3 separate regions of the Homo sapiens genome follow, and all the other regions are linked to region 1. The links are contacts of gene promoters, found by promoter capture Hi-C in blood cells and fetal thymus (Javierre and others, 2016). All regions are on one chromosome and are shown on one strand. The core of a region is centred on a gene start or on the middle of the fragment in contact, and the rest is flanking DNA. Distances in the headings are between cores, read along the strand shown.

Region 1 (3,363 bases), core at 461-2,960:
TGGTCGTACTAAACAAAAAGGAGCCAAGTATAACCTGTATAAAACAGCCGGAATAGACTCAGGCCTGGACTTTATAAATTCACCATCCAGGCAGAATTCACTATGCAAACTGGCAAAGTAGGTCCCTGGTAGGTTATGGGATATATCCCTCTTGGAAGCCACTGCCCTGTCATCCTAGGATTCTCTCAAATTATTTTTATTATTTTTTTTGAGACGGAGTCTCGCTCTGTCACCCAGGCTGGAGTGCACTGGCCCAATCTTGGCTCACTGCAACCTCCGCTTCCCAGGTTCAAGCAATTCTCCTGCCTCAGCCGCCCAAGCAGCTGTGATTACAGATGTGCACCACCACACTCAGCTAATTTTTTATTTTTAGTAGAGACGGGGTTGCGCCATGTTGGTCAGGCTGGTCTTGTGAACTCCTGACCTGAAGTGATCGGCCTGTCTCGGCCTCCCAAAGGGCTGGGATTACAGGTGTGAGGCACCGCGCCCAGCCTTAAATTATTTTTAAACATCAACTCCTCTAAAGCACCTCCCTGAGTATTCTTTAAGGTGGCTGGGTGGAATGGCCTCTCCGAGAGCCTCACTGTGATTTGCAGAGGGTCTCAGGGTGGGCACTCTGCAAGCACCATGCTGGTCATGAGAAAGCCTCCCAAAAGGGGCTTCCAGGACAGATCAGCCTACACCTAGCTTTCTGGGAACAGGCGGTCCAGTTCTCTAATCTCCTCAATGTTATTATGGCAGTATTCCACAAAAATTGTGCAAAAACAAGAGCTTCGTAAAACTTCCCAGGAAAGTTTGGAACATTTTCCAGAAAGCTTTAATTCATGGCACAGGGATCCCTTTGGCTCTCTAAGGGGCACACAGTCTTGTGTTTGGGTCGTCCGTGTGGCCCCAACGCCTGCGCACCTCCTGTCCCCGGGCTTGCTCCCGAGTCCTCCTGAGCACGGCGATTCCTACCGTTGCCGGGAAACGCACCGATGCCCATCGTTAAGTCCTACCGAGCTACAAGCACCTTTCCTTAGGGCAGTCACACACCCAGGCCCCAGAGGGTCCCCCGTACCCCGCACTGGCCTTGAGCCCCGAGGCCTCAGACCCCCTTCCCTCCTCAGCGCCTTCCCCGGGGCTGCATTTCTCGCGGCTCATATTTGGGACCTGACGGCGGAATCGTTTCCAGCCTGCCTTGCGGCCCAGGGGCAGCGGCTGGTTGCCTAAAAGCAGCGGACACACATATAGCAGAGTATAAAACCCGCGCAGGCGCACTAGGCCTACACCAACGCGACGCCAAGAACCGCTAAAGCGCACAGCAGCCCGCCGTAAGGGCCTGCCCTCACGCATGCGCAAAACCACTGCCAAGAGACGAGCATACGCACGCGCGGAACCTTTCCCTTTATCCTCCCGCAGGGCAGGCCGGCGACGAGCTAAATTGCATTCTCAGAGCGCATGCGGCAACTCGAGCCACCCTCGGGGTTTTCCAAGGCGCACGCGCGAGGCCGGGCTTGGCTGCTTCACATGACGCCTGCGCGGTCTATGCCTCTGAACCCGGCCTCTCCACTTCTGAGGAACTGGAGCTGACTCCGCTCTCGAGTTGCTCAGACTAACCTCTCTTCAGCTGGGACGGTGTCGAGTCGCCTTTGGGCTGGCGAAGACTCGTTGCGTTTGGTCCGACCACTCGGCTGTGTCCCCTGAGGAGCCAGAGGCTAGCATAGGAGTATCGATCGCTCACCGCTCGTCTGATCACGACGCAGTGCCTGGAGGAGCGCCGAGTGATCGATGCCGTGGCCCCGCCCCACTGCTGTTTAAAAGGCCGGGGGATGGAGAAGACAGAAAGGCTTGGCTGTATCCTCTGGGTCCTTCCACGCTAGTGATACCGCTTTTTCCTCTGCACAGATAACAACTTCGTACAAGGCTGTTTGCATCCACCATTTAATCTCTGCAGCTAGGATTATTAGTTCTCCCTATTTTACAGAGAGCGAAACTGAGGCTCAGTGATTAAAGTGGCCACATACTTGTACTTTTGGAAAGTCAGATCCACAATTACCCACGAGCAAGTGCTGCATCCACAGTCTGTTCGAGTGAGAAGGCAAGTGGCCAGGGGACACACTCCTGCCACCTTTGCTTTGATGCCGAGTGGTGCGTGGTCACTGGGACTTTTGTGTTTTGAGCACACACTCCTGTGGACTCCAAGTATGCACGCCTTTTGCAGCATTGCACAGAGGCATGGAAAGTTATGTTCGTACTGAGCTTGGGGTCTGAGTAGGAAACAGGCTTGCTCAGGATCAGTTCATAGATTAGTGGATTCTAGGTACGGTGCTAAAATACTTTAAAAATATGAGGATCGTAGCTATTGTAATGATCATGCTCATCCCCATTTTAGGGAGTGTATTAGTCCGCTTTCATGCTGCTGATAAAGACATACCCGAGACTGGGCAATTTACAAACAAAAAGGTTTAATGGATTCACAGTTCCACATGGCTGGGGAGGCCTCAAAATCATGGTGGAAGGTGAAAGGCACGTTTTACATGGTGGAAGACGAGATAATGAGAACCAAGTGAAAAGGGAAACCGCTTATAAAACCATCAGATCTCATGAGTCATATTCACTACCAGGAGAACAGTATGAGGGGAACCTCCCCTATCATTCAGTTATCTCCTACTGGGCCCTTCCGCAACACGGAATTATGGGAGCTACAATTCAAGATGAGATTTGGGTGGGGACACAGCCAAACCATATCAGGGAGGGAGCAAGTAAAGCACAGAAAGATCTCCTAACCCACCAGGCTCACTGGGATGCTGGTGTTTGAACTCAGCAGCCACAGGTTTAGAATCCTCATGGTTATGTGCTACACTAAGTTTCCACCCTTGAGTAGTGACAATGTTGAATTTTCCCTGAGTCTTGTGTCCCCGGAAAAAAGTAAAAAGGAATTGCTCTCACCCTTTTGTGTTGTGGAAAAAAGTTTACTGCAAAGAATCACCCCCCACCCCCACAAGAGAATTTAGATAAGACTCCAAGACACCACCCCCATTGTTTACCTGTGAGAGCAGGTAAACAGGACACAGACCCTCCAATTCTCATTCATTGTCTTATAAGTGATTACCTGAACTGCTTGTCCCACTAATCAATCCTTATAAAACGCTGGTCAACCACTTTGGTTAAGATTCTTTCCTTCCTCCAGGCCCCTGAACTTTGGCTCACCCTGGGCCTGGGCCAGCAGACAGCCCCTCCTCAGAATAGGCTGGCCTCAGGTTGATATATTCTCTGATCTACTAACCCATCATGTCACCCTTTCACCCCACTTCCAGGTTCTTTCTAGCCTTGTTTTCTTCTTCCTATGAAAGAAAAGCTCTTTTTGGCCTAACCCTTGTG
Region 2 (3,363 bases), core at 409-2,908, 350 kb before region 1:
CCTGCCTCGGCCTCCCAAAGTGCTGAGATTATAGGTATGAGCCACCATGACCTTACTATTTTTTTTTTTTTTTTGAGACAGGGTCTTGCTCTGTTGCCCAGGCTAGAGTGCAGTGGCATGATCACAGCTCACTGTAGTCTCAACCTCCTGGGCTAAGGTGATCCCACCTCAGCCTCCCGAGTAGCTGAAACCACAGGCATGTGTCAACATGCCCAAATAATTTTTAACAATTTTTTGTAGAGGTGGGGTCTCACCGTGTTGCCCAGGCTGATCTCAAACTCCTGGGCTCAACTGATCCTCCTGCCTCAGCCTCCCAAAGTGCTAGGACTACAGGCATGAGCCACCATGCCTGGCCTGAAATCACTATTTTTGAATATGGAAAAACATATTGATAGACACTGTACAGCGCAGTGTAAAACCTCTGGGTGTGAGAGCAGGTAGGCAAGTGTCTAAAAAGATGAGACTGGAGGGGAGCTAATTCCCCAGAGAAATTCTATACTTCAAGGTGATATGATCCATAGGGCAATTGTTAAAGCTGCAAAGCCCCATGGGACATCAGTAGTCACACTTTCTTACTTTTACATAAAGTGCTCTGCAAACAGTTTCAAGTTCTTCCTTGCAACCAACCACATTGCTCTGCATTAGCCTACTCCCATTTGGAAAGAGAGAAGCAGTCATGGGACCAGATGCTGAGGGAGCTGGGAATGTAGTCAAAACGGGTACCTTTCAAAATGTATATTATTCCATCAGCCCAGTGGCCAGTTCTTCCCCACAGACTCACTCTCCAGGTGTGAGAACCTGGCCACACACTGGCAGTAACAAGGCTGAAATGGGCCTTCCATAACATACTACCAAGTGTAGACCTTATTCGACTGAGTCCTGGCTCTGCTACCTACTAGGTGTGTGGTATAAAACAGACACAATCACAGTATCCCATTGAGCTGTCTCAGGAATCAAATCAGATCTGCCACGGCAACAGTCAGCAAACGTTTCCTGTACAGGCCCAGATAGTAAATATTTTTGGCCCGTGGGCCACATAAGTCTCTTTTACAACTACTCAACTCTGCAAGAAAACAGCCATGGACTATATGTATGTGAAAGGGTGCTGCTGCATTCCAATAAAACTTTATTTACAATAGCAGGCAGTGGGCCACACTGCTTTGGGAAAGGGGAAGACCTCTACAAATATTATCTTCTAAGGACTCCCATGTTGAAATGTAGTCATCTGTTTATGTCTGCTTTCTCACCATACTATGAAGTTTCTAAAGGCAGATAATATATTCCCTTTTTTTCAGATTAAAACAAAAAGAAACTGGGCATGGTGACTCATGCCTGTAATCCCAGCATTTTGGGAGGCCAAGGCAGGCAGATCACTTGAGGTCAGGAGTTCGAAACCAGCCTGGCCAACATATGAAACCCCATCCCTACTAAAAATACAAAAATTAGCCAGGTGTGGTGGCACACACCTGTAATCCCAGCTACTTAGGAGGCTGAGGCAGGAGAATCACTGGAACCCAGGAGGCAGAGGCTGTAGTGAGCTGAGATCGCACCACTGCACTCCAGCCTGGGTGAGAGAACAAGACTCTATCTAAAAACAAAAAAACAAACAAAAAGAATAAGTATAGTCCAGTATGGCATACAAGGAAGTCCACAGGAGTTTTCACAACTGTACAAGTTAATACTAAAGTAGAATTCTAAGTACAAATGCTGACAGGCCTAGGAGTGACAGACACAATGAGAGAAGCCAGTCATTAGACAGGCCCACCTCCCTCTTAAAGGGCAAAGTCTCCACTTAACTCGGGTGGTGGGACAATTGTTGCCATGCAGAATTCTGATTTGGTGTTAACAGACTTTATTGATATTTTCAAGAAAATACCACAATCAGGTATTTATAAGAAATCTGCTCATTTTTCAATGTTGACAACTAATTCAAAAATTTAAAAAACAAAACATTATGAGCCAAATAAACATGCATGTGGGCTGTTTCAGCCCACTTGTGCAAGCTCTGATATAAAGAATTCATTTCCAGCCAGGCATAGTGGCTCATGCCTGTAATCTTAGCAACTTGGGAGGCCAAGGTGGGAGGATCACTTGAGCTCAGGAGATGGAGACCAGCCTGGACAACATAGCAAGACCCCCATCTCCACAAAAAATAAAAAATTAGCTGGGCATGGTGGCACACACCTGTAGTCCCAGCTACTTGGACAGCTGACATGGGACGATCGCTTGAGCCAGGAGATGGACGCACCAGTGAGTTATCTCACCATTGCACTCCAGCCTGGGCAACAGAGCAAGACTCTGTCTCAAAAAAAAAAAAAAAAAAATCCACACCTGTAACCGTAGCACTTTAGGAGGCCAAGGGGTAGGGTTGGATCACCTAAGGTCAGGAGTTCGAGACCAGCCTGGGCAACATGGTGAAACCCCGTCTGTACTAAAAATGCAAAAATTAGTTGGGCGTGGTGGCATGTGCCTGTAATCCCAGCTACCCAGGAGGCTGAGGCAGCAGAATCACTGGAACTCGGGAGGCGGAGGATGCAGTAAGCCAAGATCGCGCCACTGTACTCCAGCCTGGGCTACAAAGTGAGACTCCACCTCAAAAAAAAAAAAAAAAATCAACTTCACAGAAAAATGTCAAGAATAGTACAATGAATTCCCATATCGCCTTCACCTGGATTCAATCTTACTCATTTTGGCATCTCTGAATTCCAATGCACGGAAGGCACTGAAATGTTGAATCATGGAATGAATCTCATAAGGAAAAATAAGCAAAACATTATGGGCCGACTTCCTATAAGTTAAAGTGACAGGAGGAACGAACTCTGAAAAAATCTGAGAGAAAAGAAACTAATCAGATAGAAGGATTGGAACAAGAAGAAAACAGAACAGACACAAAGAGTCTATGGGATGTATGTTTATTTCACCTGCTGAATGCTTGCTTTGTTTTATTGCATTTGATTGTTATTTTATTATTTTTTTTGCTGGGTTTAAGTAGTAAGAGAAACAGACAAATCACCAAGAAGCCAGGTAAATACCACACAAGGACAGGAGAGACCAGCTAAACCGATGGTGTACTCTCAGCAAAACCTTCCTAATTCAACCATCACCTGTTTGCAGTCTGGGATTATTTGGACAAGTGAGGCTAAATATCATCTTGGCATTATTAATTATTTGAGAAAGTTTGCTAAGCAAATGAACAGTATAAACAAGGGAAATGTTGAATATTTGCTCTAGGGGAGCAGTGAAAAGCAAATGAACAACTTCCAAATCCTTTCTAATTATATCAATGTGCTGAACTTTTGTCTAATTATTATGTTCCTTGAAAATGAAATAGAATTTTTTTTCCTAAACCATTTCATATTTTTA
Region 3 (3,363 bases), core at 564-3,063, 280 kb before region 1:
AAGCAATTCTCCTGCCTCAGCCTCTCAAGTAGCTGGGATTACAGGCGTGCGCCACCACACCCGGTTAATTTTATATTTTTAGTAGAGACGGGGTTTTGCCATATTGTCCAGGCTGGTCTGGAACTCCTGACCTCAAGTGAGCCGCCATGCTGGTCCCATGTTGCATTTTTAAATTAGAGGAAAGCTGGGAGTCGTGTAAGCCTGCAGCACCTTCTGATTTGATGCACCCCTTGTGCGGTGCCTTTTAGACTGCCATTTTGAGTTCTTCATCCGGCCAGTATTTATAGCAGAGGGAGTGGAAAGGAGACCAGTGTCTAGTTTTTAGACCACTTTCATATTGCCTAAGTGGTCCACAAGTTTTAACAGCAGCCACTGACGGCTGGTAGCTATTTCAGTTAAAGACAGAATGTTTAAACAGGAACCTGTTTTTAGTGGTTTATTTGGCTGGCGTTCATAACAAATAGCATTCCATCAGTTGAAATGGCCCCCTCAGTTTCGCCTGTCGTAGATATGTGTAAGACCAATTTGGCTTAAAAACCTGAATTCATCACAATGCAAAATGTGGTGGTGTCACTTCGAGTCCAAATTTCCTTTCCCCACTTTTCTTCTGCCTTAATTTGGAAGACACTCGCTAAACAGTCTTTTGAGATTGGCAGTGGCATATGGTGTCTGTCCTGTGAAGGTGCTATCAGTACCTCCCCTGGGCAGGAGACCTTGGCAGCCCTGTGGCTACGCTCTCAAGGTTCAGATCCTCCCTCTGTTGCTGACTCAGCTGTGTGACTTCAGCAAGTCACTGTATGTCTCTGTGTTCCTCAACAAAAAACAGTGATAACAATTGTATCCATTTCATAAGGTTGCTATAAAGTAGTATTCTAATTATAAGATAATATGTTGAAAAAGCATAAACCAGTGCTAGGCACACAATGAATATTCCCTGATGCTAGACTGCTGTTTTGGTGGTGGTGGTGCTGTTTAGTTATTAACTACACCGATCTCACTGCTGATGTTAGTTATTTAGTAGCCACCACTGTGTGCTGGATGTTTTATATGCAGTCTCCTTCCACCCTCTCCATGGCCCTGGAGCAGAGGCCTTATTGTCCCCAGATGCACTCAAGTCTACACAACGCCCGTGTGGTCACAGAGCAAGGGAGCGTGGGGGCCTGGTGACTGCACAGTCCCTGGTCCTGCTCACTCGGTGGGTACGCCCCGAGCACGCACTGTAGGCTTCTGTACAAGATGCCTTCAAAGGACTCTGTCACAGTGGGGGAGATTGGAGATTGGCAGATAACCAACTAGAGGCTGCATTGAGCCTTCCAACCTGTTGCTGTGAAATTTGATCAAGATAAATGATGAAAGGGATTTAAAAAAAAATAAAATCTATCAGAAGGGGCTGGGTCTTTTGCAGTTAGTTTATGTGACTTTAGATACAATGAGTATCTGCTAACCAATACCATTAGTCACATCTCACTGGCTGGGTAGGGAACCTGCCCCTCTGCAGAGTGACAGCTCCAAACCAGGTGTTAGAGGTCTCCTGCCTTCTCCCTCTGGTGTTTTTAGGAGAGTTCCCAGGAGAAAAAAGCAAAAGGCTGCGCTACCATGATGAAGCCGACCAGAGTGCCCTGCAGCGGATGACGCGGCTTCGTGTCACCTGGTCTATGCAGGAGGATGGGCTGCTTGTGCTGTGCCGCATTGCCAGCAATGTCCTCAACACCAAGGTACCAACCAGCCCAGCCCAGCGGTGGGCCTGCCCCTCACTCGGAGCTCCTTCCTGTCTGAGCCTTCCGGGGACTCCCAGCCAGAGACCACTCCTCTCAGCTGCTCTGCTTCGCCACTGGGAAAAGCATTGCCCAGAATCCTACACATTTTCTTTTTTAGAAAGATGGAGCCTTGCTCTTTCACCCAGTCTGGAGTGCAGTGGCACGATCACAGCTCACTGCATCCTCAACCTGGCCTCAAGTGATCCCACCTCAGCCTCTCATAGTCCTGGGACTACAGGCGCACCCTGCCATGACCAGCTAATCCTACAAATTAATACCATTCTGTTTTTCTACATTTCTTTTTAGCTTTCAGCTGCATACATATAAATGTTTGCCTAGCTGCAGGCAAACTAGTTCAGAGCTGTTCTTTCTCTCTCCTCACCAGTAGTCTAACCCTGGCCTGCTCCTTCCTCCCACCTTCATTGCCTGAAAAGCTCCAATTTACCTTCCTGTAACTGCCCATCATGTCCGGAATGATCTGCCAATTGGGCGTAATTACCCTGCTCATTCTCTGTTCTTGGCCGGATACTTCTCATGCTGTTTCTGTCACCTCTGGTACCTCTTGGCTCACCGGCGTGGCTGGTCCACAAGGCAGCGAGACCTCTTATTTGCCTTCCAGGAAAAAGCTCTGCCAGTCCAGTCCAGGGCCCCTTCCAGGCAGTAGTGCCACAAGGCAGCTTTGGAGGAGCCCGGGTGTGCCTCCGGGTCTCAGCCAGGCCAGGCAGGAGAAACCCAGCTGGGGCTTTGTGCCCAGATGCTCCTTGCCTGCCAACTATTAGATCCCTTGTCTTGACCGCTTGTCCCCTGTTCTCTCATCCCTCAGTCCTCTCCTGAATTCCATCCCAACCTCTTTTCCAAGGAAGAACCTGAAAGGTGACATGTTGCCATCCCTAATTTCTGTTCCCTGCATCTGCAATGGCTTCGTCATTGCAGAGCTGATGGGTAAGTGGGGCGTCCCTCCATCTGCTCCAGCTCTGGTGCAGCTGGAGGAGGCAGGAGGGTCCTGCATAGGTCAGTGTTGATGGACTCTCGCCGCTTACCAGAACTTACAGACTTTTTGGGTCACCTCATCCTTGGGGATGTAAGAAAATAACTCGTCAAGCGGCTTTCTCATGTCGGCCTTGCCTTCCTGTGTTATTGACCAAGATGTTCTCCTGGGTCTGCTAATTTTGTACATTCTGCTTCTACTAACATAACATACAAGCACAACATACAGAACGTTTCTGAGCACACATGATGCATAATTAGGACACTAAGACCTCTAACTAAACACACTTTGCATCCCCATGATTCCCTCTAATACAGCGCCCTTTCAGGCAGTTCCCCCCCGCCCCGTTGGGCACCTTTGTCACACATGGCGCTTGCTAAAATACACTCTTTCCCGCTGGTCACTGAGGCCTCGTCCTATACTTGTCTGCCCAGAATCTCCCTCAGTGTCTGGCACATGGTGGGCCCAGTAAATATTGTGAGGTGACAGTTGTGGGGATTCTCTGAGGAAGGAGGCTGCACAAAACACATTTTGTCCACTTTTTTATGGTAATTCCCCATGATGTCGTCTCTGAGGATACTGACTTTTTGTCTTGGCTCTGTGTTTGATCCAGGTGAA

What was found. The method cuts DNA at HindIII sites, captures the fragments that hold promoters and counts their contacts. A CHiCAGO score of 5 or more calls a contact.
Region 2: a contact is called between a fragment that was not itself captured here and the fragment with the promoter of KDM8 in region 1, in 1 of 17 cell types (monocytes). The highest score is 5.2, in monocytes.
Region 3: a fragment that was not itself captured here is called in contact with the fragment with the promoter of KDM8 in region 1 in 2 of 17 cell types (activated CD4 T cells and total CD8 T cells); the score reaches 5.3 in activated CD4 T cells.

Annotation. Positions count from the first base shown.
Region 1 is chr16:27,201,873-27,205,235 of GRCh38, reverse strand. It overlaps KDM8 (lysine demethylase 8), which reads right to left and starts at 1,710. Exons shown (of 8, transcript NM_024773.3): 1 at 1,600-1,710. RefSeq lists an enhancer at 1,506-1,665. The HindIII fragment of the contact is 9,655 bases long and covers 818-3,363 here.
Region 2 is chr16:27,556,392-27,559,754 of GRCh38, reverse strand. The region is part of intron 1 of KATNIP (katanin interacting protein); the gene reads right to left. Among named protein-coding and RNA genes, the nearest start is that of KATNIP, 7.9 kb to the right of the region's middle. The HindIII fragment of the contact is 5,731 bases long and covers 1-3,363 here.
Region 3 is chr16:27,484,349-27,487,711 of GRCh38, reverse strand. It overlaps GTF3C1 (general transcription factor IIIC subunit 1), which reads left to right. Exons shown (of 37, transcript NM_001520.4): 24 at 1,558-1,715; 25 at 3,359-3,363. Among named protein-coding and RNA genes, the nearest start is that of IL21R-AS1, 33 kb to the right of the region's middle. The HindIII fragment of the contact is 9,490 bases long and covers 1-3,363 here.